5 separate regions of the Homo sapiens genome follow, and all the other regions are linked to region 3. Evidence: promoter capture Hi-C in human tissues and cell types (Jung and others, 2019). All regions are on one chromosome and are shown on one strand. Each heading gives the region's core, a stretch centred on a gene start or on the middle of the fragment in contact. The rest is flanking DNA. Distances are from core to core; before and after follow the strand shown.

The links. Contacts are between HindIII fragments. The study calls those that stand out against the background at their distance.
Region 1: a fragment that was not itself captured here is called in contact with the fragment with the promoter of FOXB2 in region 3 in 5 of the 25 tissues and cell types used here (dorsolateral prefrontal cortex, heart right ventricle, liver and 2 more).
Region 2: a contact is called between a fragment that was not itself captured here and the fragment with the promoter of FOXB2 in region 3, in 1 of the 25 tissues and cell types used here (liver).
Region 4: a contact is called between a fragment that was not itself captured here and the fragment with the promoter of FOXB2 in region 3, in 4 of the 25 tissues and cell types used here (IMR-90 fibroblasts, mesendoderm cells, ovary and 1 more).
Region 5: a contact is called between a fragment that was not itself captured here and the fragment with the promoter of FOXB2 in region 3, in 7 of the 25 tissues and cell types used here (H1 embryonic stem cells, bladder, dorsolateral prefrontal cortex and 4 more).

What each region holds. Positions count from the first base shown.
Region 1 is chr9:76,873,786-76,878,808 of GRCh38, forward strand. All of the region lies in intron 1 of PRUNE2 (prune homolog 2 with BCH domain), which reads right to left. Among named protein-coding and RNA genes, the nearest start is that of PRUNE2, 30 kb to the right of the region's middle. The HindIII fragment of the contact is 5,508 bases long and covers 789-5,023 here.
Region 2 is chr9:76,823,905-76,828,759 of GRCh38, forward strand. It overlaps PRUNE2 (prune homolog 2 with BCH domain), which reads right to left. Exons shown (of 19, transcript NM_015225.3): 5 at 2,676-2,828. Among named protein-coding and RNA genes, the nearest start is that of PCA3, 62 kb to the left of the region's middle. The HindIII fragment of the contact is 3,231 bases long and covers 1-2,890 here.
Region 3 is chr9:77,017,413-77,022,701 of GRCh38, forward strand. It overlaps FOXB2 (forkhead box B2), which reads left to right and starts at 2,243. Exons shown (of 1, transcript NM_001013735.1): 1 at 2,243-3,541. The coding sequence starts at 2,243. The coding sequence ends at 3,541. The HindIII fragment of the contact is 6,747 bases long and covers 1-5,289 here.
Region 4 is chr9:76,772,912-76,778,331 of GRCh38, forward strand. The region is part of intron 6 of PRUNE2 (prune homolog 2 with BCH domain); the gene reads right to left. The region is part of intron 1 of PCA3 (prostate cancer associated 3); the gene reads left to right. Among named protein-coding and RNA genes, the nearest start is that of PCA3, 11 kb to the left of the region's middle. The HindIII fragment of the contact is 8,675 bases long and covers 1-5,420 here.
Region 5 is chr9:77,160,024-77,164,695 of GRCh38, forward strand. No RefSeq gene overlaps it. Among named protein-coding and RNA genes, the nearest start is that of VPS13A, 15 kb to the right of the region's middle. The HindIII fragment of the contact is 4,434 bases long and covers 1-3,486 here.

The DNA of each region.
Region 1 (5,023 bases), core at 2,293-4,792, 140 kb before region 3:
GCAGGTTAAGGAAAAGTACTCCATAAAGTGCATTAAATAACCTCATAATCACATTTAAAGGCTAAGTGAACTGGGGCCACCGCAAGTACTAAAATACATGATAACAAAAGCAGTCAGCATTTTCCATACCATATGCTTATAAATGTTATTCTGCAGGGAACCAATTAAAACTATGGAATACTTAGAGCACAGACATATGGAACAAAACAGGGCAACTTATCTTGTCACTGCAGTGCTTGCTCAGTACATCTCTTCGGGAGATGTAATACTGAATCATTAGTACAAATAAATGTGATCTTAATCATGAATACCAAAAGGCCACACCAGCACTTAAAGCTTTGGCTTTGGTGGCTCCATTATTGAGGGTTTTAAAAGGAAGGAGAACTGACTGTCTCCCAAAGAGTCACATAAAATACCAGCCATATTAAATATTCAAAAAATATCATTAGTACAGCAAATTTTTAATGAGGCTAAGTCTCTGTTTCCTCACCTGTTACACTGGAAAACAATAATAATGATATCCTGTGAAATTCAGAGGGTTGCTGGTCAAACCATTTAAAAAGTGCACATGAAAGCATGTTGGGGAGTCTAATGCTCTGAATTGGTGTCAGTATTGATTTTGTTACCGATGGAAAGAAGACATGCAGATAACCCAAAAGAAGCAATTATCAAGGCTGATTCTGACAGCCATTAAGTTAAAACTCTAGATGGAGCTTTACTAAGTTGTCTTGACATTAAAAAGAAATGAAAACTTAAAAAAAAATCTGAGATATATTCATAGGTCAGTCTAATAGGAAAAAGACAGTGGACATTTTCCATCCCATCGCTCGAGCTTCATTTGGTATTGCTGCTTAATTTAGAATTAACATTTAAAGGAACCAGACATAAATTTTAATAAGATGGTTCACAAACCTAACAGAAATAATGCTAGGAAATACAGGCTCAAGCATCGCCTCAGAACCAGAGCATGAGAGAAAAATAAAGGAAGAAATTTCTTAAAAGGGTAGAATGAGTTTGCAGCAGACAAAGTATATTAATTATCATGAGATGAGATCAAAAGTGGGCTGAGGTAGTGCTGTAGTGCAGGGGACTACATTAATTAATAATGAGTCAACAATAAAATGTCAGTAACAAATTATAAAACAATAATTTTACTTGCATACAACCTATTTTCTTGTCAATGATCTTTCTGCTATAATCTGCCTCCAAAAATCTATACTTCTGAGGCCTTTTTTTCCAAGCTTTTCTCCCGCTACACACACCCCAGTGTGTTTCAACCATACAGACAGCACCTGTATTCCAGGTCCCAATCTCACACACTTTTCAACCCCCAAGCCTTTGCACCAGCACCTCCCTCTACCTAGACGTCCCTTCCCCATTGTCTGCCCAGAGAACTGTGACTCTTCTTTCAAAACTCTGCTCAAATATCACTTTTTTCTGTGAAATCTACACTGACCTCCCCACCCATACCACCTTCAATACTCTTCAGTACTGGAGATTTCTGGGTTGTAAATAGATGTTATCATATCTATTTGTCCCAAACTGTGAGCAACTTGAGGGCTAGCTCTGTGTTTTTTGTTTGTTTGTTTGTTTGTTTTTTGAGACAATCTTGCTCTGTCGCCCAGGCTGGAGTGCAGCGGCATGATCTCGGCTCACTGCAACCTCCGCCTCCCAGGTTCAAGTGATTCTCCTGCCTCAGCCTCCCGAGTAGCTGGGACTACAGACACGTGCCACCATGCCCGGCCAATTTTTGTATTTTTAGTAGAGACGGGGTTTCACCATATTGGCCAGGCTGGTCTCAAACTCCTGACCTTGTGATCTGCCCGCCTTGGCCTCCCAAAGTGCTGGGATTACAACTGTGAGCCACCATGCCCAGCCGGCTCTGTGTTTTAGCCACCTGTGTGAGTCCAAAGTCTCAAGATGTTCTCTGCACATAGTAAATAGTGACTCAATAAATGTTTATAATAGAATGAATAGGGAATGTGGGCACAGAGGTTCTCTCAACACCCAAGTCATACCACTGCTATCCATCCTTTCTTCCTATCTATGTCCCTTTGACACGTATCTCAAACTTGGGAGAACATCAAAATCATAGGGTGGGTGCAGAAGGCACCAAGAATAACTGTTAAAAACACATAGCCCTGGTCCCATTCTGCTATGTTCTTATCAGGTAGATCTGGAGTGGGGCCCAGTTATCTGTGTTTTGAACAAGCTCCCCAGGTGAATGCAATACGCACAAACATTTAAGAATCATGGCTCTATGGCATACTAGTAGTAGAAATTCCTATTTCCTGTGAGGTAGAGAAAATCATCTCTACAAATCTGCTTGCAAAATCTGTTTCAAGAAAAATGAAGCAACTAGACACAGAGGAACCGTCTTGGATTTTAGAAGAAAACCATTTAAGTAGATAGATGGAAATAAAAATACACAATGAATAAGCAGAACTCAAAATTTCTCTGGATTTGACTCAAGTGAATTACAGAGAATTGTCGAAGCAAGGAATAGCATGTTCTGCTTGGAACACTTCCTGTTTTTCTGCAAGGAAAAGCATTCCATGTCCATGACCCACAATGCTAGAGGCACTGAGGGTTCCTCCTGCTCACAATACTGACCCTTTTTGGGGGCCAGATTCCCCTGGACTTTTCAGAAATTTTCCAAGGCAGGCAATGGGTGATATTGATTCCATGGAGGCACCTACATAAACAAATAGATTTAAAATTTTCTCTTTCTTTCCCTTGACCTATTCCCTCTTTCTGTGCTACTCGGGGCTCCTCCCTCCCACCTAGACATACCTATTACACTTGGTGGCGTTTTTGGGTGGGAATGAGGCCCAACACTGTCCCACCATTTTTAGTGGAATCAACAAAGAGATCATCAGCACCTGCCAGTCATTCTAACTCTTCTGTTTCTAATACCGCTGCTAGCCAAATAAGCTACTTCCCACACTAGTTTTAAAATAACCATTGGATCTTGGAAGTGACTTAAACCCAAGAGGAAATTTTATATATAATTACCCCAGTGCCTGCCATCTCTAGAATTACAGTGACTCTAGAGAAATGCTAATCAAACTGCATTACATGAGATATTTTTAAGCATGGAATATAATACAGGTTGACACATCTGAAAGAAAGTTGTCTCCTCAGGATACCATAAGACACATAAAGCTTTCTGGAAAAGAGGCAGGAGACATAGGATACTGAGCCCAACTCTACTGCTAACTAGCAGTGAGTCTTTGATCTAGATATATGTGTCTTCTCAGCCTCATATCTTCATCTCTAAAATAATGAGACTGGACCAAATGATCATTAAGATTCCCTTCAAGCTTTAATGCTCTAGAACAAGTCTACAAAAGAACATGGGTATAGAAGAGGTATCCCAGGAAGATGTGCATTTTAAAAGAGGACCTATACATTTTTCATTAAAAAAAAAAAATTCAGACCTGGCGCGGTGCCTCATGCCTGTAATCCCAGCACTTTGGTAGGCCAAGACAGACAGATTGTCTAAGCTCAGGAGTTCGAGACCAGCCTGGGCAACATGGCGAAACCCCATCTCTACTAAAAATACAAAAAATTAGCCGGGTGTGGTGGCAGTCACCTGTAGTCCCAGCTAATCGGGAGGCTTGCTTGAACCCAGGAGGCGGAGGTTGCAGTGAGCCAAAATTGTGCCACTTGACTCCAGCCTGGGTGACAGAGTGAGACCCTGTCTCAATTAAAACACACACACACACACACACAAAGGAACAGCTTTCTAATGGTAGAATTTCATGAATTGCTGCACTCAAGACTCTGAGGTGTCCTTCTAGGAACCCCTCCAATCAGACTACCCAAAAGTGATCCCCCCAGCTGCTGAATATCTCTTGAGGTTTGTTTGATTAATACATAAGAAATACTGAGACATTAGAGTACAGTAATCAAGCATCGGTGAATGAATAATCTGCCATTTGAAGAAGGAAAATTTTCTCTGGGTTATAAATAATGCACAGTTAAATGTTTTTACAGGGGCAGGCAACTGCTACCTTTTATAATATCACTTCCAGCCACTAGGGCTTAGAGAGAATACCTGTTTAGTGGACAGATTTGCTCAAGACAGAACATAAAAACTACTTAGGTATAGTGTAAGATACACCATGACCCTAAGCGGTAGAGATGCGGAATCTGGACTTAGCAGGAAGTGGGGATTTAGCAGTGGTAGTGTTATCAATAGATTCCAGAGCTGATCAAGCAAGGCAGAGGTAGGAATCAATAGCTGCATCAGCAAGATGCTGCAGGTCCTGCTGATTTCTCAGAAATTGTGTTCTGCAGAAGACAGGTCAGCACTATGGTGAATCAGATAGTCCTTGAGGCCACTGCAGAGTCAAGGTATTGATGACTCTGGGCACAAGAATGCAGGCTGACCCCAAGGACAGGACAGCCAGTTAGAGAACCAAGCATTCTCTTTGAAGATGGCCAAAGAGAAGGAAAAGGGAAGAGCAGGTGGAAGAGTCCACTCTTAAAGCTCATGGACATGTTCCAAGGTGGGAATTCTTTGTAGGCAGGGAGGGTGTCATGAGCAAGAAGGTGAACCACAGTGCTGTTATGAAGAAGCGATTGCCCTCTTGGCTTCATTTTTCTCATCTAGAGTCAGGTCGCTTCTATCTGTGCAATGAAAAGTTGCTTAGAGAGGACCACAGAAGACCCACTGTCCAGAGAGCTCTTGAATCCTTAGAGAGAAGCTCTGTTGACTATTCACTAAGAGATGTGGGCTAGATCACCAACTTCAGAAAACTTAGAGTTCAGTAAAGATTTCTGAGGAGGGGTAAGAATATTACGTAGTCTTTAGAGATTTTCTTCCTTTATGATCTGTAAAATCTGCAAGGACAAGGTATTCATTCTCCTGGGTTAATTGGTTTTGTGGCAGGTACCATTAGGATTAGAGCATTTCTTAAGCTGTCTTCTAAAACTTAAAAAAATCCTACTACTTTGTCCTGACAACCCCCACCTACTCACCCAAAAGCAATCTGAATTACAAGGAATTACTCTTATT
Region 2 (4,855 bases), core at 25-2,524, 190 kb before region 3:
TCAGTTAGGATCCCAATAGGAAAAATGCACCTCTTTTGCTGCAAAAGAAGATGTGTTAATGGCAGGACACTTACAGAGATGTGGGCTGGGTGAGAAAGTGAATAAAAGATGATGAGGCATCCAGAGACTAGCAAAGGGACCCAGAAAGAAAACAGAGATCTGTAACTTGAGAAGACTGGCTGCAGAAACTTCCACCTAAGCAGGAAGAAGGCAAGGAAGATCCACTACAGTCTCATTCTTCTCCTCGCCTCCATCCCTACCTGTTCCTAACTCTTCCTATTGGTCAAACCCAACCAGAAGCCAGTGTTGTGGGAGCCCATAAGATTAAATACTTAGGGGTCCACCTCTGGAGCCCCAGAGCAGACAAAGGCAGGGAATAAAAGGGTGGCGGTGGACAAATGAAGAAAAATTAACATCACCATGCAAACTAGTTAAGTAACACCAAAGAAAGCCAAAACTGGCTTTCAGGCTGCATTTAGGTAAGCCCCCATGTTTTCTAGTATAATTTCATTCAAAATGCACTTTACAAATGTGACTCGTAAGACTATCTTAATTAAGTTGCTTACCCTCGTAATAGGCTCTGACAATAAGAGTTATTAAATTCCCTAATTAATGGGAGTAATAATCCAGAATGGCTAAATTATCCAGAACTGCATAGTTGTAGTCAGTTGACCAATGGAACTCAATGAAATCTATCACAGTAAAGCAGCAAAGGATCTGGCTCGACATTTAATTCTCGCGCTACATTATTACGTCTGATTAGGCCTACTCTCTTGGGAGGAAGATCTATAATAAAGCCTGGTAAAGCACTGCACCCTTCCCAGACGTATGTTAAGGCTTCAGAGACCACTGCTTGCACTACCTACTTACAATGCTCTGTCAATCACATGAGGAAACAGACAGGCACTAAATATTTTTCTTTGACTCAAAAATTGAAAAGCCACAATCTTTCACAATGCAGCGTAAAATGATTCATTGAAGACATTGTGACATTAAAAGTTTGGTGTCATTGTGAAAATGAATGACAAAACACATTCCCTTGTGCAGCATACACACAAGGACATGCACATCTATGCATAGGTAACAGAAGGTGCAATGGACGCTGCAAAGGCCCCACCCCATTTCCTCAAACTTTCCCATCCCAGTGCACCCAGCATGATGCTCCACCACCAGCACCTGCCTCTCTTTTCCTGAGGGCTTTCCTTGGCCACCAGAGCCTACACTGGAGAATTAAGGCCCCCTGGGTCTGAGTAGCCCACACTCTTCCAGTGGTCTGCTGGTAAATGTTTAACGGCCAGTAACAAATCCTGATTTGTAGTGTTTGTCAATTTCAGGGATCTAAATACTCCTACCATGGCTGATCTCAAGCTACCAATCATCACTCAACTCACAAAATTCCTGAACATTTAACCATCAGCTCCTGGAGCCGAGATGAGCACACCACTGCATCCCTCAGGTGGGACAGAGTTTACACTCTTTCTCATGGTCTCTGGTGGGATTAAGCTCTGGTTTCCCATGGAGCCAACTTGCTTGCTGAAGCATTCCATTCCCCTATCAGTGTTGACTGGAACCACCTCCCACATAAACCACTTTGCCTCAGGCTCTGCCCCCTCCTGCCCCTGGGGATGGGGTTCCTGAACTAAGAGAGAAAGTTATGTAATTTAGTGTTTACATCTTAAAGACATATAGGCTGGGTTTAGGCCTTGCCTGGCCACCTGCCTGCTATGTGTGTTTGATGTTGGGAAAGCAATGAAGGCTTTCTGCACTTCAGTGTCCTCCCTCACCTGCAGACTGGGACGTCAAAGCACTGACTCTTGGGGTTGTCATGAGGAGGATTCAGCAAGAACATCCTTGCCAAGCTATGCCATCAAAACCTGTATACAGTAGGTATCCAGTGAATTATAGCCTTTTGTTATTGTAAAACAGTTGATCCAGGAAATTCACTGTCCTGACAAAGCCTAGACTCTGACAACAGTTTCTTCAACATAGCCATCTTCTCACTCATTTCCTTCTCAAATTAACTGATTTATGAAATCCCATTGTGCTTGATATTGCTCCTTCCATCTTCTCAAAATAGAATCCTATCAGCATAAGGATTGCATGTAATAATGCACCTGAGATATGCACTAGAGACATGAATTAACCACACATCCAGACACAAAGGCCTCGGAGGAGAGGCCACAGTACAAGCTGTCTATTTGCAGGGGAGTCAACATTATGTGCCTGAAAACCTTCCACCAGCACAAGCAATAGGAAGAAGGTGAAACACATTCAAATGTACCTTCTCAGCTGGGCATGGTGGCTCACACCTGTAATCCCAGCACTTTGGGAGGCCGATGCAGGTGGATGACTTGAGGCCAGGAGTTCGAGACCAGCCTGGCCAACATGGTCAAGCCCTGCCTCTACTAAAAATGCCAAAAATTAGCTGACTGTCATGGTGCATGCCTGTAATCCCAGCTACTTGGGAGACAGGCATGAGAATCACCTGAACCCGGGAGGTCGAGGTTGCAGTGAGCTGAGATCATGTTACTGCACTCCAGCCTGGGGGATAGAGTGAGACTCTGTATAAAAAACAAACAAAGAAACAAATATACCTTCTCAGGTCTGATGATGCTCCATGCCACAAACCATCCCTACTCGGGAGGGACAAGAGAGCTGGGGACAGAGTCACTCACCCTGAGCACTGAACTGGGTCTCCTGTAGGACGTTGATGATGTCCTCTCTTGGAGGCAAGTTAGGAAATTTTTCTTCCAGGATAGAAAGAATTTCCTCCTGCTTCTCTGAGATCTTCTCTGATTCCATGGTCATCCACTTGAAAAGAATGCTACCTGAAAGGTATGAATAAAAATGCTCTTAAAGCTTTCCAGCCAAGCCAGAACAGGGGCCAAGAAAATCAGTGTTTCCTGGCCTCTCAATCTAAGCTTTCCATTTCTGTCTCTCACCTGGACCAGAGTCCTCCACACGTAACATTCAAGAGCCAATTTTTAGAAAACAATTGAACCATCATCCAGCTTCATTATTCTCCAAGTACTGCTCTCTACAACTTAACTGACCCTAGCATACTCTATGGTACAGAATTCACAGATAAAGGAAAAAAATGTGTATATTCCCCCAACCCCACACAAACACACAAAAAGATATGCATTGGTCTTAAATGATTTCAAAAAGGAAGTTAGTGGTAAACTATTTAAAAGTCTAATCAGCCTTATTTCCTTTAAAGGACCAGAAAGAATACTGTTTCCACTCATTATATTATTAATTTTACATACAAACTTCTTCCTTTTCACACTAAATGAATGTATAATCCCACGGTCAACAGCTGAGGAATCTGACAAGGTGGCTAACCTGACGTCCATTTCTGATCTCCCAAGCATCATACACAGTTTTAAAGTCATTTACAATTATCTAATTATAAGGACTCACAAGCTGGGTCTAAATCACAGGTTTAAATTACAAAGTAATTTTCCAGTGTGAAGGACCTTGCACAAACTCCTGTGACTTCTGTGGATAATCTCATCTTGAAAGGGAGGAGTTAGCACCCCATACGTACTCTTACTCTTCCCTGCATTCCAAGCCCAGATTAACACAGAGTCACCATGGGAGAGAGAAGTTTCGCTTAATGACAAATGATTAAGCTCTCTAAAAATCCCCAAATCTGTTGACTAATCAAAGTACTACCGTCTCTGTTTCAGTGTAGCCTTAACGCCAGTCATGGGGGAGGGAAAATGGAAAATAAATAAAAGAGGAAAGAAGGTAAAAGGGGAAATAAAGCATCCAGTGAGGGAAAACTATGGTACCCAATCCAAACACATGGCCTGAGACCTACAGAACCTAGAGATGAGGTCTACATTTACCATCAAACATGCTGGAAAGTCCCAAGCAAGTCGTCTGGCCTCCGTTTCCAGTTTCCCATTTTTAAAACAGGAATAATACTGCTTTCCCAGCTCACAGTGTTATACTAAGCATCAAATGAATGTAAACATCATAAAGAAAAGTAAATATTGCTAAATATATTTAAAGCATTTCATCCATTCATTCCCTCACAAACAATTACTGAGTGCCTTTTATCGGCCAGGCAGGGCTCTATGCTAACGATTCAAGATTAGGCTAGAGATAACCTTGCCTCTTGAAGCTCACGGGAGATTAGAGGTTACAAATAAGTAAGCACAGACATTTTCAATAGCAGAGAATAAGAAATATTATGGGTGAAATACATAGTACTCTGAATCTAGGCCAAAATCTAGGGTTCAGAGGAGTCTTCCTAGAGAAAGTTAACCTAAGCTGAGCTTGAAGGATAACTAGGGACTTAAGGCAAAGACAAGAGGGAGGTCATGATCCAGAAAGAGCCTGTGCAAAGGCACTGAGGTGGGAGGGAATTGGGCCAGTTCAAGGAACAGAAAGCAATTAATTACAGGTAGATGGTATGATTTTAGCAAGGGAAATGTTGAAAAATTAGGTTGGAGAGATAGAGATAGATAGCGGGACCATGAAGGGCCTTACAAGCCGCCTTAAAGTTTGTCTTTTATATTTTAAGAGGGATGAGGAATCTTTCAAGAGTTTTAAGTAGGGAAAGTAACATGCTCACATTTATGTTTTATAAGAATCACTCTGGCTATCATGCAGAGAAAAATTTAGATAAGGAATATGGGGAGAATCAGTAAGGAGGCTGTTTTGGATAAGAAAAAAGGAAAGAACAGTCAGCACACAGAACTAAACAGATTCCATTTCAACAGTCATTTGAAGGTGGAGGGCAGCCAGCTGGATTTTGTGTATACCCTGTGGTCTGTCAATCTCTGACATAAAACTCATACTATAAAGATTATTTTTCCAGCCGGGCGCAGCGGCTCATGCCTGT
Region 3 (5,289 bases), core at 993-3,492:
CCAGGTTAGGCGTGGGAAAACCGAGGGAGCCATAGTGTCCAAATGCTCCTTTCTCCTCAAATCGCCTAACGGGAAAGGACCCGTGAATTTCCAACTTCAGCCACCCTATTTTACAAATAATGAAACAGTCCCAGAGACGGAGAGTATACTTGTTTCTAAACTCTGCTTTTCCTCCCAGCTGAAGGGCAAAGGTAGCCAAAACGAGTATACAACTTCAGGTTCTCCCTGCAGTAAACTGGGGTTTCCTGCTGGGTGTTTGGATGAGTGCAGAGCAGGAACCTCCAAGCAGAAGGACCTCACTCCTGGGTTCATCCACCTCTCCCTCGCAGATCACACCAGGATCCTGTGGACTGATAATTTTTGCTTCCTATTTAATTATTTCCATTCCACCTCCTGCCTCGCCCTGGCCCCACACCACCGTGCTAAGAATAGCAAAGATTTCCTTCCAGCACACACAGGTGATGGGACCCCTGAATCCCCAACTCTTACTTCTGGCCCCAGCTCAGACATCGCCATCCCAGAGAAACCTCATCTTGTCCAACTCACTCGCTCCAGGAAAGTGTGGTGGAGCCTCCATTCGCCAAGCCCTTTAGTGCCTATTCTATTAATTTCTTGGTTACTGTTCGTCTCACCCTCTATACCGCGATGGTGGAGCTCGGATACTGTCTCCTGTCTCCCTGCACCTGGTGCCTCACATGCAGTTGGCGCGCAATAAAACTGAGATGAATTTGGCATTTGGTGAAAACACCCCATGCTTTCTTCCCCATGAGTTTTTCCCTCCAGCCCTCTAATCATCGGGGTTTCTTGCAGAGAAGAGGCCTTGAGGACACGATACTCTGAACTTGACCCAGAGTGTCTAGCCCAGGAAAAAGGGTTTGTAAGGAGAGAGAAGCTCACAGCGAGTAGATGAAAACAGGGAAGGGTAAAAGGAAGGGGGCGGAAGAGGGAGATGCCAGAGAGAAGAGAAGCAAGAAGGCAGTGTCCTGTTCCCCCTCCACCGTGCTTGGTGGCCCGGGTGGGGCGCAGCTGCGGGAAATGCACCCGGAGCTGTGCCCCCTCCCGGCGAACAGCCTGCGCCACCCGCCGCACCGGGAGGTGGCTGGGGGCTGCCGAGCGAGTGGTGAACGCGATGGGTGGAGAGCGCCCGAAACGAGGTGGAAAAGGGGGCGGGGGCGAGGCACGGCGCCTTCTTGCCCCTTCTTCAGCTACAGACGCGGCGGCGGCGGCTGAGTCCCTCAGCCTCGGTCATGTGATAGTCTCGAAGCGCTAGCTGCGGGGGTCTCGGCGTCTCGGGGACCATTACAAAACGCAGCCAGGAGAGCGCGTCGCTGCCACTGCCGTCGCCTCTCCTCCTCAAGACAAGCCCGGGAGAAAGGCGGCAGCTGCGGCGCGGACGGCTGAGCCTCCCCGGCCAGCACTCACCCAGCATTCGCAGACGCCCTCTCCAGCCCGCCGCTCGCTCCCAGAGTCCTGCGCCCCACACTCCTCAGCAGAACCTGCGGGCGCTGCCGCTTCAGAAACCACCAAAGTTTTTTCTCCTCAGCGACAGCCTAGGGCTGCGCGTCTCTTCTAACCCCGGCGACGCTGCGAGCCTCGGAGAAAAGAGAGGCGCCCTAGAAGCCAATCTTCTCTCTCCTTACCCTGATTTTTCACTCCAGGAAAAGGAGAACTCCAGCGCGGTCTGGCTAAGTGCCTGGCCAGGGGCCTGCGTCCAGGGCACTGGAAGTCCTGCTGTCACTGGCCTCCAGGACAGCAGGCGCAAACTCAGATTTAAAGGGCCAGAGTCTCTACTGCCCAGACCTTCCTCCCAGCCATCTTGGTCTGGGTTTCCCTCGGACCTAGAAAAAGCAAAGAGGCCGGGAGGAAACACGGCCCCTTGCCACTCTCCTCTGCAGCCAGCTCCAGCACTCAGTCTTTGGCCACCCGGGGGAAGACGCAGAGAAGGCGGCGGTAAACCTGGTGCACTCCGCCCGCGACTGTGCGCGCCAGTCGGCAACCGTCGGGGCCAGAAGTTGCCAGCTTCCGAGAGCTGAGTAGGCCCGAAAGGCCAAGGTCGGAGACACCAGGCAATTCGGAGAAGGCAGGAGAGAGAAGCAGAGAGGGCCTGGAGGGCGAGAGGGCAAAGTGGCGGGACTGGAGGGGCCGAGTGGGAATTAGTGGGGGCAGCCAGGCCCCAGGAACGGAGTGCGGAGAGATTCTGTGGTCCAGTGCGGGCCGGAGGGCGGTGGAGGAGCCGGGGGCGATGCCGCGGCCGGGGAAGAGCTCGTACAGCGACCAAAAACCGCCCTACTCTTACATCTCGCTGACCGCCATGGCAATCCAGCACTCGGCCGAGAAGATGCTGCCGCTGAGCGACATCTACAAGTTCATCATGGAGCGCTTCCCCTACTACCGCGAGCACACACAGCGCTGGCAGAACAGCCTGCGCCACAACCTCTCCTTCAACGACTGCTTCATCAAGATTCCGCGGAGGCCCGACCAGCCTGGCAAGGGTAGCTTCTGGGCGCTGCACCCCGACTGCGGGGACATGTTCGAGAACGGCAGCTTCCTGCGGCGTCGCAAGCGCTTCAAGGTGCTGCGCGCCGACCATACTCACTTGCACGCGGGAAGCACCAAGAGCGCGCCGGGCGCCGGTCCGGGAGGGCACCTTCACCCCCATCACCACCACCACCCCCACCACCACCATCATCACCACGCTGCCGCACACCACCACCATCACCACCACCCACCCCAGCCGCCGCCGCCGCCGCCCCCGCCGCCGCCGCACATGGTACACTATTTCCATCAGCAACCGCCTACTGCTCCGCAGCCGCCTCCGCACCTCCCGTCACAGCCCCCGCAGCAACCGCCCCAGCAGTCGCAGCCTCAGCAGCCGTCTCACCCCGGCAAGATGCAGGAGGCGGCGGCCGTGGCGGCGGCGGCGGCGGCGGCCGCGGCAGCCGCGGTGGGCAGCGTGGGACGCCTGTCTCAGTTCCCACCCTACGGGCTGGGCTCGGCCGCCGCCGCTGCCGCCGCGGCCGCGGCGTCCACGTCAGGCTTCAAGCACCCCTTTGCCATTGAGAACATTATTGGCCGGGACTACAAGGGCGTGCTGCAGGCTGGAGGGCTGCCCTTGGCGTCCGTCATGCACCACCTGGGCTACCCCGTGCCCGGCCAGCTTGGCAACGTCGTCAGCTCCGTGTGGCCGCACGTTGGCGTCATGGATTCGGTGGCCGCCGCCGCGGCCGCCGCAGCCGCAGCCGGAGTCCCTGTAGGCCCGGAGTATGGGGCCTTCGGGGTCCCGGTCAAGTCCCTGTGCCACTCGGCAAGCCAGAGCCTGCCTGCCATGCCGGTGCCCATCAAGCCCACGCCTGCGCTGCCGCCCGTGTCCGCGCTGCAGCCGGGGCTCACTGTCCCCGCGGCTTCGCAGCAGCCTCCGGCGCCATCCACCGTGTGCTCCGCGGCCGCGGCCTCGCCCGTTGCCTCTCTGCTGGAGCCCACAGCCCCTACCTCGGCCGAAAGCAAGGGCGGCTCCTTGCACTCGGTGCTAGTGCACTCCTAGGGGACCCGGCGGGCGTGGGGAGACCAGCGGGGTGAGAGACGCCGGGCCCGGAACCGCCCAAACCACCCGACGGGGAGAGGGCGCCCTGGTCAGGCCGGGCAGAGCTGGCGAGTCTCAGCCTTTGCTGGAACGGAAGGTATTTAAATAGACGAACAACCCCGAAAAGTGGATTCTCCAGTGGTCTGAATAAATATAACCTTCCTGGTGTCTGTGTTTATACTATGTTGTACAATCAGATTAATGAAAGCCAATTTTCAGGTAAGAGTTTCTATTGTAATTAATATAAATCCATAAGTTATGGGGGGAGGGAACGAAGGAGGTTAGGAAAGCCTCATTCGCTGGTAAATTGGAAGTCGATTCTGACCCTTATTCCTGGGAGCAGAAGCTGGCAGAGCTAAACCTCCCGCGAAGAATCCAACAGAGAGTGACGCTGAAACGGATCTCAGCCACCACGTTTCTCTCTGCTGGTCGCATCCTCGGCGGTCGCCTCTCGTGAACATTCAAGACAAAACTGCCGTCCACTAAGGAAATTTCGTTTTATTTAAGAAGGAAAAGAGGAAGCGTTTGATACCGTTATTTTCCTAGTCAGCTAAATGGGCAAGGAAACGGTGTCATGAATAAAGTCGCTTTGGAGGGGGAAGGGGAGGAGAGGAGGCAGCGGGAACCCCACGAAATATCTTTGGGAAACAGCTAAGGTTCTTGGCTCTGACCTGGGGGTCAAGAAGGATAGGAGGAACCTCTAGAGCAATTAGTTTGTACAAAAGAGAATGGCAGCAGCTTAAAGGGTAAAGCCCCAAATTCCAAAAGTTGGGAAACACAACCAAAGGGAGACAATACAGGCGACTTTCCACCTGCAACTTGTTTGGGTATCAGTCGGATGAGAGCCCAAGAATAATGTGAATTCCCACGATCCTTTCTATTTGGAATTTTAAGGAAACAAATCACTTGTATAGCGGGATTTTGTTTCCCTAACTTACGAATGCAGGAAAAACTCGGCACATCACTCGACAATATTGCTCTTAACGCTTGCAGAAACGTTCCATGGCTGTTCCCTTCCAGTCTCCTCGGACGGAAGCAAGGGGACCACCCAGTCACCTTTGCACGCTGCGGCTGTTTTTGTATTCCGTGTGCTGTTTGAGCGCTTATGTCTTTCAGGCGAATTAATTCTTCAGTTTCAATTCGTGAATGGGAAAGAAACTTGCCTTGTCGCTCTTGCCCTTCCCCCCTCTTGAGCCCCAGGGAATAGCACTTTACTCGCGACACAATTTTGGGAATGGAGGGGGGCAGAGTGGGGAGAAATCCGCTTTGCCCTTTGGCTCTAAGTCACCTCCGCCTCTTGTCCGCGCCGCGTTCGGGTTGTGACTTTGTTTATGTCTGCTGGTGTTGTACGCGGTGTTCTCTATTAAAGCTTCTCTCTGGATATCTATGCTAGCCCCGTGTGAAGGTGTTTCAGTTCTCCAAGGATGAGGCCGTGGTTTGAGTGCCCACAGTTAGGTTAGGGTACTTTGCAAATCCTTCCCCTCCCTCTTATTTCTTAACTTCAGAACTTCAAAGGGGTGAGTACACGGGCGAGCCACCAGTAAGCACCGATTTCCTTCATTGCTCCTTTCAGCCTTTGGCACAATCATCTCTTTTACTATCTATTATTATTAGTAGTAGTATTTTAGAGACAAGATCCCACTATGTTTACCAGGCTGGTCTCGAACTTCCGATCTCAAACAATCGTCCCATCTGGGCCTCCCAAAGTG
Region 4 (5,420 bases), core at 2,680-5,179, 240 kb before region 3:
TTAAGTGGCTTTAACAGAAGTTGGGAAGCCCAACCAAGTCACTTTTTGCTCCTTTCCTTCAACAGGAAAAATGTATGTTTCCTCCAAAACCTTGCCACCTGGGAAAAGGAACAATTTGTATTTAGAAACAAAAATCAAATCAACAATATAATTTCTTACATTGAAATTTATAACCTGAGATCCTACCAGCTTCCCCTACTTTATATTACTTTAAGTTCATGCTTATTTCCCAAGTTAAATTTACTTCACCAAAGCGGTCTTTTGTTGTTGTTGGGATTCATCCAGCTTAAGGAAAAACTTTGAATTACTGTGTGCACTGACTGAGAAGGAATGCAATAAACAGGCCATGTTACTTCCAAATCCTTTTCATTGAAGAAATAGAAATTTCTGTAAACCCTGGGAGAATACCAGAATGAAGAATGGGAAGAAAGGTTGATTTATAGCGGACAATCTTTTCTTTATTCATGTTATCTGGCTTCCTGTAATACATTCATCCCGCAGTCACATCACATACACACTAGTACATCTTTTTTTTTTTTTTTTTTTTTTGAGACAGAGTCTCGCTCTTGTCGCCCAGGCTGGAGTGCAGTGGTGCAATCTTGGCTCACTGTAACCTCCACCTCCCGGGTTCAAGGGATTCTCCTGCCTTAGCCTCCTGAGTAGCTGGGATTACAGGCACCTGCCAGCAAGCCAGGCTAATTTTTGTACTTTTAGTACAGGAGGGGTTTTGCCATGTTGGCCAGGCTGGTCTCGAACTCCTGACCTCAGGTGATCCACCTGACTCGGCCTCCCAAAGTGCTGGGATTACAGGCGTGAGCCACCGCACCCGGCCAAGTACATCTTATGTAGGTGCAGTAATGTAAGAATGTTTTTTTCCCTGTTCTATGTTTCAACTGGTAAAGGGAATTCAACAAGGAAACTTACTTAGGAGACCCCATGTGTTAATTTTGGTAAAAATAACCCCACAGAAAAAAGGTGGAAAGTAATTGATGGAATAAAGCAGGTAGAGAAATGAGACTCCTTTATAAAGAGAAGGAGCAAGTGAAAACTAAACGAAATGACTCTTAGAAGACAGTAGATCTATTTTAAGTCTTCAGGGCTAGGAAAGGACAGGTATTTTTAAACTTAATTGGGTCATTTCAAATAATAATTAGATTATTTACTTGAAAACTTGGGCAGAGTAGAGGGAAAAGAATAGGTTTGATTCTTTTTTATTTTTTAATTTTAAAAAAATATTTTTTTGACACAGGGTCTCACTTTATCCCCCAGGCTGGAGTGCAGTGGCACAATCATAGCTCACTGCAGCCTCAACCTCCTAGGCTCAAGCGATCCTCCCACCTGACCCCCCTGAGTAAGTGGGACTACAGGTGTGCACCACCATGCCCAGTTAATTTTTTGTATTTTTTTGTAAAGATGGGGTTTCACCATGTTGCCCAGGCTGGTCTTGAACTCCTGAGCTCAAGCAATCCACCTGCTTTGGCCTCTCAAAGTGTTGGGATTAGAGGCATGAGCCATCGTTCCTGGCCTCCAGTTCAACCCTTTTTTTTTTTTTTTTTTTTTTTTTTTGAGATGGAGTCTCACTTCTTGCCCAGGCTAGAGTGCAGTGGCACGATCTCGGCTCACTGCAACCTCCACCTCCCAGATTCAAGCAATTCTCCTGTCTCAGCCTCCCAGGTAGCTGGGATTACAGGTGTATGTCATCATGCCCAGCTAATTTTTGTGCTTTTAGTAGAGATGGGGTTTCACCATATTGGTCAGGCTGGTCTCGAATTCCCGACCTCAGGTGATCCACCCACCTCGGCCTCCCAAAGTGCTGGGATTACAAGTGTGAGCCACTAGGCCCGACCCAATTCTTTAAACCAGAATAAAATAATGATTTAAAGAAAGTTAAATATGGAGGAAACAGGGGAGCTTTAGCACCTTTGAGTAGTGAAAAGATTGTAGATTTTAGAGACAGAAAAACATGAGTTCAAATTCTGTTACCAGCTATGAATTACTTTTTGTTGCTGAGCTTCTATTTCCTCATCTATGTAATGGGAACACTAATATCTACTACACAGATGAGTTATGAGAAACAAAAATAATTTACATAAAGTTCTGGGCACTCTGTAATCACTCAGTGAATTATAAAACACCATACTTCAAGTCCCAAAGAAGAAAAAAAATTTGCCCTGTTACTTGCTAAGCTGAACCGAATAGGACCAGACAGAAAATCAAGTTTATTTGGTCGGGGGGAAAGAAAGGACTTTTTCACTAACCATCTGTGTGAAACACTGGAGGAGAAACAAGAGTCTTAGAATTTGGGAGTATAAATGAAAACATCCAGCTAGAATGCATCTCTTTGCAATGACAAAGAGGAACAATATTCTCAGAGGACCATTTTGTACTTTGTCTTTTTTTTTTGAGACAAGGTCTCACTCTGTCTCCCAGCCTGGAGTGCAGTTGCACGATCACAGTTCACTGCAGCCTTGACCTTCCAGGCTCAAGCGATCCTCTCACCTTAGCCTCCAGAGTAGCTGGGACTACAGGCATGCACTACCATGCCCAGCTAATTTTTGTGGTTTTTTTTTGTAGAGATGGGATCTCGCTATGCTGCCCAGGCTAGTCACAAACTTCTCAGCTTAAGCAATCTGCCTGCCTCAGCCTCCCAAAGTGTTGGGATTACAGGTGTGAGCTACTCTGCCCAGCCTATTTTGTCATTTTAAAAATCATTTTCTCAGTCTGTCCATATTTCTTCTCTTCAGGTATGCAAGGAATGTTATCTCTTTACATTTGCCCTAGAACTCCTCAAATTTTCTTGGATGTGAAAATAGTTGTACATCATCCCATTTCAGGCAAATTCTCTTGGGCCTTACCTCTCCCAGAAAAAGCACAAGGATTGCTCACCCGGCCTTCATGCCGGCTATGCAGGCCCATTTCTAACACATCCTTCTCTAGCCTTTAGCTCGGACCAACACCAAGTACCACCATTTCTATAACTTCCATTACTCCCCTCCTCCTATGACTACACATCCCTAAACCTAATTCCACTCTTCTCTATTTCCTTCCAAAAAATTCCAGCATTTTCTGGTGTGAGATTTGGGAGGGATAGGAATAAGAAAGAACACTGATACTACTTCTAAGCATCCCTTCTTTATAACTACAAAAGACAATCTCACGTGCACAGAGTAATCAACTCATGAGTAAATATTTAACATTTCAGTAAAGACAGTAAGCACAAATGAAATTTTTTAAATTTTTGTAAATTTTAGGGGGTACAAGTGCAGTTTTGTTACATGGATATTGAGTAGTGGTGAAGTCTGAGCTTTTAGTGTAGCCATCACCTGAATAGCAGACATTGTACCCAATGGGTAATTTTTCATTCCTTACCACCCTCCCGCCTTCCCACCTTTTGGACTCTCCGATGTTATTATTTCACTCTCTGTGTCCATGTGTACACACTGTTTAGCCCCCACTTACAAGTGAGACCATGTGGTATCTGATTTTCCATTTTTGAATTATTTCACATAGGATAATGATCTCCAGTTCCATCCATATTGCTGCAAAAGCTGAGTAGTATATCACGGTATACATTTACACCACATTTTCTTTTTTTTTTTCTTTTTTCTTTTTTTTTTTTTTTTGAGATGAGTCTCGCTCTGTTGCCCAAATTGGAGTGCAGTGCACAATCTCGGCTCACTGCAACATCCGCCTCCCGAGTTCAAGCAATTCTCCTGCCTCAGCCTCCTAAGTAGCTAGGATTACAGGTGCCCGCCACTATGCCTAGCTAGTATTTCTAGTTTTAGTAGAGATGGGGTTTCACCATGTTGGCCAGGCTGATCTCGAACTCCTAACCTCAAATGATCCACCCACCTCAGCCTCCCAAAGTGCTGGGATTAAAAGTTATGAGCCACTGTGTCCAGCCAGCAGTTTTTTTTTTTTTTGTATGTTTGAAGATACATGAAGCTTTCTCTTGAGTTTCTTTCTCATTACCAAAACACATACACACACACACACACACACACACACACACACACACACACACACACACACACAAAGGGCCTGGACCTTTCTTCCACTCAGCGGAGATTCTCGGCACTCCTAAACTGTTCCTCTTGGGTTGGGTTCCCACATCTGCCACTGCACCAATGCCATCAGGGTAGCTTCCTCTTGGGCCCTTCTTTCTCCCCTGCCCCATAGCCCTTGAGGTTGTATATTGCTGAGAGATGATGTTGTTTGAAGGAGAGAAGTGGGGGAGGGCAGAGAAGGGAAGAAATGCAATGACCCAAAGCATGTGAAACTGCTAGGGACAAAGGGTAAGAAAGACCATTCCAGGATTCCACAATGAAGTAGGAGAGGGGTGCCAACCTCAGTTTTAGTAGGGAGGCTTCTCAGACTGCCCTGTTCTCAACAGTGGGGAAAAAGTCTTCTGAGAAAGAATATAATAAGCACAGGAATGGTGGGAAGGCAGAAAATCGAAGTAAGCAGGAGCACTGGCCAGCCATGCCCACCATGCTCTGTAAAATGCTATCCCAGGCACAGAGCTCTGAGCTCAGCACACAGATGTCACTCCATACAGTTTGCTGGCTGACTGAAGAAATGAATTTCAGGGGCAAGGACTCCTTTGCGCCTTCCCAAATGTATTCATTTATTCAATTCAATAAATATTTGTTAGTCCCAATTTATGCAAGGCATTCTTGGGGATACAGTATTAAATAAAACAGACAAAAATCCCTACCCTCGTGAAAGTCACATTTCAATGCTGGTGAAACACAATACATATATAAACAAGTAGACATGTTATATGTCAATGGTTGATGGGGCAGTGCAGAAAAATCAAACAGGATAAGGTGGATAGAGAATATCAGGGGAAAGGGAAGTATTATTTTATATAAGATGGTCAGGGAAGATGTCACCATTTACATGACATTTGAGCAGAGAATTGAAATAAGTTCAGGGGGCTAACTATGCAGGTATCTAGGGAAACTGTTTTCTAGTCAGAGAGGGGACAGCAGGTACAAAGTCCCTGAGGCAAAAGCATGCTTGCTGTGTTCTAGGAAAAGCAAGGAAGACAGCATGTCTATAGCAGTGGGAGGTGGAAGGATAATAAACAGTAGGTGAGGTTAGAGGGGACCAAATCATGTATTTTCCATCCAGAGGTTCCCAACCTTGGCTGCACATTAGATTTATTCTAAGGAGCTTTTAAAAAATACCAATGACTGGGTCCCAGCCTAGAGTGATTAAATCAGAATCTCTGGAGGTAGACTTGAGAATCTGATGTTTGCAAGTTTCCTAGGCAAGTCAAGGCTGAGGAAGACTGCTGCAGGCCATTGTAAGAGCCAGGCGTTGATCTCATTCAACCTTTCCCTCAGCTCTTCTAGAGACAGCCAGCATTCTCTTATGGCACAAATACAGCCTTTCACCCTCACAGAAAGACACAG
Region 5 (4,672 bases), core at 20-2,519, 140 kb after region 3:
GTTAATCTATTCTGGCAACACCCAGATACACCCAGCAACAATACTTTGCATCCTTCAATCCAATCAAGTCCACACTGAATATTAACCATCACAATTGGTCATGTGCTTTCCTTCCCATAGATGCAATGTTCCTTGAAGAAAGACTGTGTCTCCATATCTATTATAACCTGACACAACTGGTGCTTAGTAAATATTCATTAAGGTAGAGATTGGTCTGACTTACTAGCTACAAGGAGGATTTATGAACCTTAATATGCCTGTCAGTATTTTGAGAGAAGTCTGGATATGTCCAACCCATCCTTAACCCATTCCCCGTTTAGAAAACAAATGTGCAGCTCACTGCCAGTGCAGTATTCTCAGGGCAAATGGGAAATGGGTTAAGGGGATATATGTTAACCAAGACTAAAAGAAGTCAATAAAACTTTTTTTCTTAATTGCAACACTTCAGCTATTCTGTTCCAAGTCATCTTTCCTCATTTTGCCATAACAATCCACAGTTCATTACTTTAGGTTGACCCATGTGAAACTGATGATAATCAACTATTTTAGACTAGGACACTCAGCAATATCATATGGCTTAACCTAAAAATGTCAAGGAAGATGGGAGATGTGAACTTGTCAATGCATCTAACACCTCCAGGGGTATCATCTAATTTTCTTGTAAGCTTTTGACACCTTCTCCTTAGAACTATAAAATTGCCACATAACTCAGTTTTCCTTGGCATCTTTGCAACAAAAATATCCCTAGGGTTTCCTCCTACATGCAAAATAGCAGTAAATTACCATGATTACAAAGGTAAAGGTAAAATATCCTGAAACAAAGAGAAATGCAGATTATCATTTGGTGGACGTGTTTTGCTAGGGAAATAGGTGATGTCAGAGGGCTGCCTTCTGTTTCTATTCTAAAGAACAAAGGTGAGAAAAAATAAGAATTAATGTTGTGACATTAAGGACATTGTAAAAAAAATGCAAAACATGTCTGCATATGTAGGTGTGTATATATATTTCAATTTTCTATTTTATTAGTTGTGGCAATTATAATTTGGTTTACAACAAACTTTACTAGCAAAGAAAAGGAAGGAAGGAAAAAGGAAGAAAACTAGGAAGAGGAAGAAAAAGGGGGGCGATGACAAGGAGAAAAAGAAGAAAAAGAAACAAGATCTCCTTATTTAAAAAGAATTAATCCTCTACTTGTGTTTAATGGAGCAAAGCAGCTGCTATGACACCTTGAAAGAAAACTGTCAACAATTCCACTGATCTCCTTGAAGTGACCAAGTCATGGTGGCAAAGTCAAGCATGGCTCACTCATGAATCTCAGACATTTCTGTCACCAGAGTCTACACCCTGCAGACAGTGGCAGGCAAACAAGGGGCAGGAGATAGGCTCAGTGCCAGAGACGTCAGCATTGTTGAGGAGCAAGCTTGACCATCCAGGATCATGTTGGGTTACAGAGGTACAGAAGTGTTGGGATATAGAGATTTAACAAGAGTGGGTTCAAAAGAGACGACTGTCAGCCAGGCATGGTGGTTCACACCTGTAATTCCAGCACTTTGGGAGGCCGAGGCAGGCAGATCACTTGAGGCCAGGAGTTTGAGACCAGCCTGGCCAACATCATGAAACCCCATCTCTACTAAAAATACAAAAATTGGCTGGATGTGGTGGCGCATGCCTGTAATTCCAGCTACTTGGGAGACTGCAGCAGGAGTATTGCTTGAGCCGGGGAGGCAGAGGTTGCAGTGAGCCGAGATCATGCCACTGCACTCTAGCCTGGGCAACAGAGAGAGACTCTGTCTCAAAAAAAAAAAAAAAAAAAAAAAAAAAAGAGAGAGAGAAAGACTACTGTCATTGTCATTATACTTTGAGTTATATTCATACTCCAGGAAGGAGAAAAATGAAGATTCATGGATTAAATGTGGAAATCTACTAGGAAAACCAGAAACCTCCTGTCTGACTGCTTTTATTTCATTTCGTGGTTTTCTGAAATATTTTTAACATTTTGAAAACTAAATCTTGACCATAAATATTTTATTTTATGTACAAATAATCTACAATAAAGATATGATTATCAGGTTTGAAATTGTAGTAAACTACTTTAAAAGGAGAAGATTTAGAAAGATGGAAGCATAGCACACTCTCCTGGCTCATGTGTGTATCAAAACAATATGAATAAGCTCCACTCACTTGTTTCTTCATGTACAACTTGCAAGATTTCTCCACTTTTTTCTGTCTCCTCCCATCTCCCTCTCTCCCTCCCTCTTAGTTTTAAAGGGTGTTTTTTTCTGAATACAAAAGGAATACATACCCAGTGAAATAAATTCAGTGATCATCAAAACATAAAAGAAACTCAGAACTTATCCCTGATTTCACCACCTGAAGACAATACTATTACATCCTAGTGTAAGTTCTTCCAGACTATTTTCTATGCAAATGCCCACCAAGTTGAACAAATATCTGGAACTCTCAGCACATAGCAAGGACTCAAAAAAAGTTGGCTGTTGGCTGGATGTATTGGCTTACTCCTGTAATCCCAGCACTTCGGGAGGCCAAGGGAGACAGATCACTTGAGGTCAGGAGTTTGAGATCAGCCTGGCCGACATGGTGAAACCCTGTCTCTACTAAAAATACAAAAGATAGTTGTGCATGGTGGCACATGCCTGTAGCCCAGCTACTTAGGAGGCTGAGGAACGAGAATCACTTGAACCCAGGAGGCAGAGGTTGCAGTGAGCCGAGATCACACCATTGCACTCCAGCCTGGGGAACAGAGCTAAATTCCGTCTCGAAAAAAAAAAAAAAAATTGGCTGTTAACACTCTTTTATTTTTAACCAACCTTTTGAACTTAAGATATTCTAAATACATTTTCTTTCAAAATGTATATGATCATTTGAATGAATGCAATTTGCATAATAATTCCTCTATTAATGGATAATGAGCTTTATTTTCTACTTTTCTTTATTATACACTATGCAGTAAACATCCTCATTCCTACAGATTTGCACATATGTCCATTTTTCCTAAAAATAAGGCAGACTTGTGTATAAACTATTCCAGTAGTTTGATCTCTGGCTTATTGCTAAAACTTTCTGTGCATTAGTTTCCTCAATTGTAACAGTTGGTAATAATATCTGCTTGCAAAGTTGTTGTAAGGATTAAATACTTATGTCTATAAAGTGGCACTACAGAGCCTGGCTCAGAAGTAGAATTCAATAAATGATTATTTTTCTTTAAAATAATTTACTAAAAATAGACTACTTGGCTCAAGGTTAAGCACAATCCAAAAGCTATTTACAAATACTGTCGAATGGACATCCAGAAAAATTATACCAATTTCTTCTGCTATCAGTAGGGTTGGAAGTTTCCCATTTACCATTTCCTTCAGAACTCTGGGTGCTACCAATTTTTTAAATCTTTGTCAATTTTATAGGTGAGAAGCACTTTCTTGTTTTTTATTTGGATATATTTTATTAGCTGGAAACGACATATTCTTATACATTTATTAGGTATTTATTTCTCTCACGAATTGTCTATTCAAATCAATTGCACATCTTTCTGCTGAGTTCTTTTAAAAATTTGAAAGAGTAAACTTTAAGGGTATCCTGTATTTTAATAACATCACAACTTTGAAATCTTGTTTTCAGGCCCGGAGCTGTGGCTCATGCCTGTAATCCCAGCACTTTGGGAAGCTGAGGTAGGCAGATCATTTGAGGCCAGGAGTTTGAGACCAGCCTGGCCAACATGGCGAAACGCCGTCTCTACTAAAAATACAAAAATTAGCCAGGCATGGTGGCATGGGCCTGTAATCCCAGCTACTGAGAGAGACTAAATATCCAATTTTAAGAATTGTTGTCCCCTAATTCAAGTTAAGTAAAATGTATTCCCTTGTTTTACATAATTATTAGATTTTAAGCCAGGGCTTCTCGACCTCAATCTATTAACATTTGGAGCTGGTTAATTATTTGTTGTAGGAGGATTTCCTGTGCATTGTGGAATGTTTAACAGCATGTCTGGCCTCCGTCGAATGTCTGAAGACATTGGCAAATGTCCCATGAGGAGCAAAATCACTCCTAGTTGAGCAACACTTCTCTAAGCTAATCATCGTTGGGTGGTGCCTTAGTTCATTTCATGCTGCAATAACAGAATACCACAGACTGGGTAATTTATAATGAACACAAATTTATTGGCTCACAGTTTTGAAGGCTGGAAAGTCCAATATCAAGGTACTAGCATCTGGTGAGGGTCTGCTTCTTGTGTCAACTTATGGTGGAAGGTGAGAGGGCATATGAGAGAGAGAGAGCCCAACTGAAAGACTTTTTATTAAAGCATTAAACCTACTCATGAAGGTGGAGCCTTCATGGCCTAATAACCTCTTAAAGGCAGCCCCACCTCCTAACGCTGTTACAATGACAATTAAATTTCTTTTCTTTTCTTTTCTTTTTTTTTTTTTTTTTTTTTGAGACAGAGTCTCAGTCAATCGCCCAGGATGGAGTGCAGTGGCGTGACCTCGGCTCACTGCAACCTTCACCTCCCAGACTCAAGTGATTCTTGTGCCTCATCCTCCCAAGTATCTGGGATTACAGGTATGTGCCACCACACCTGGCTAATTTTTGTATTTTTAGTAGTAAAGACAGGGTCTTGCCAGGTTGGCCAGGCTGTCCTCGAACTCCTGGCCTCAAG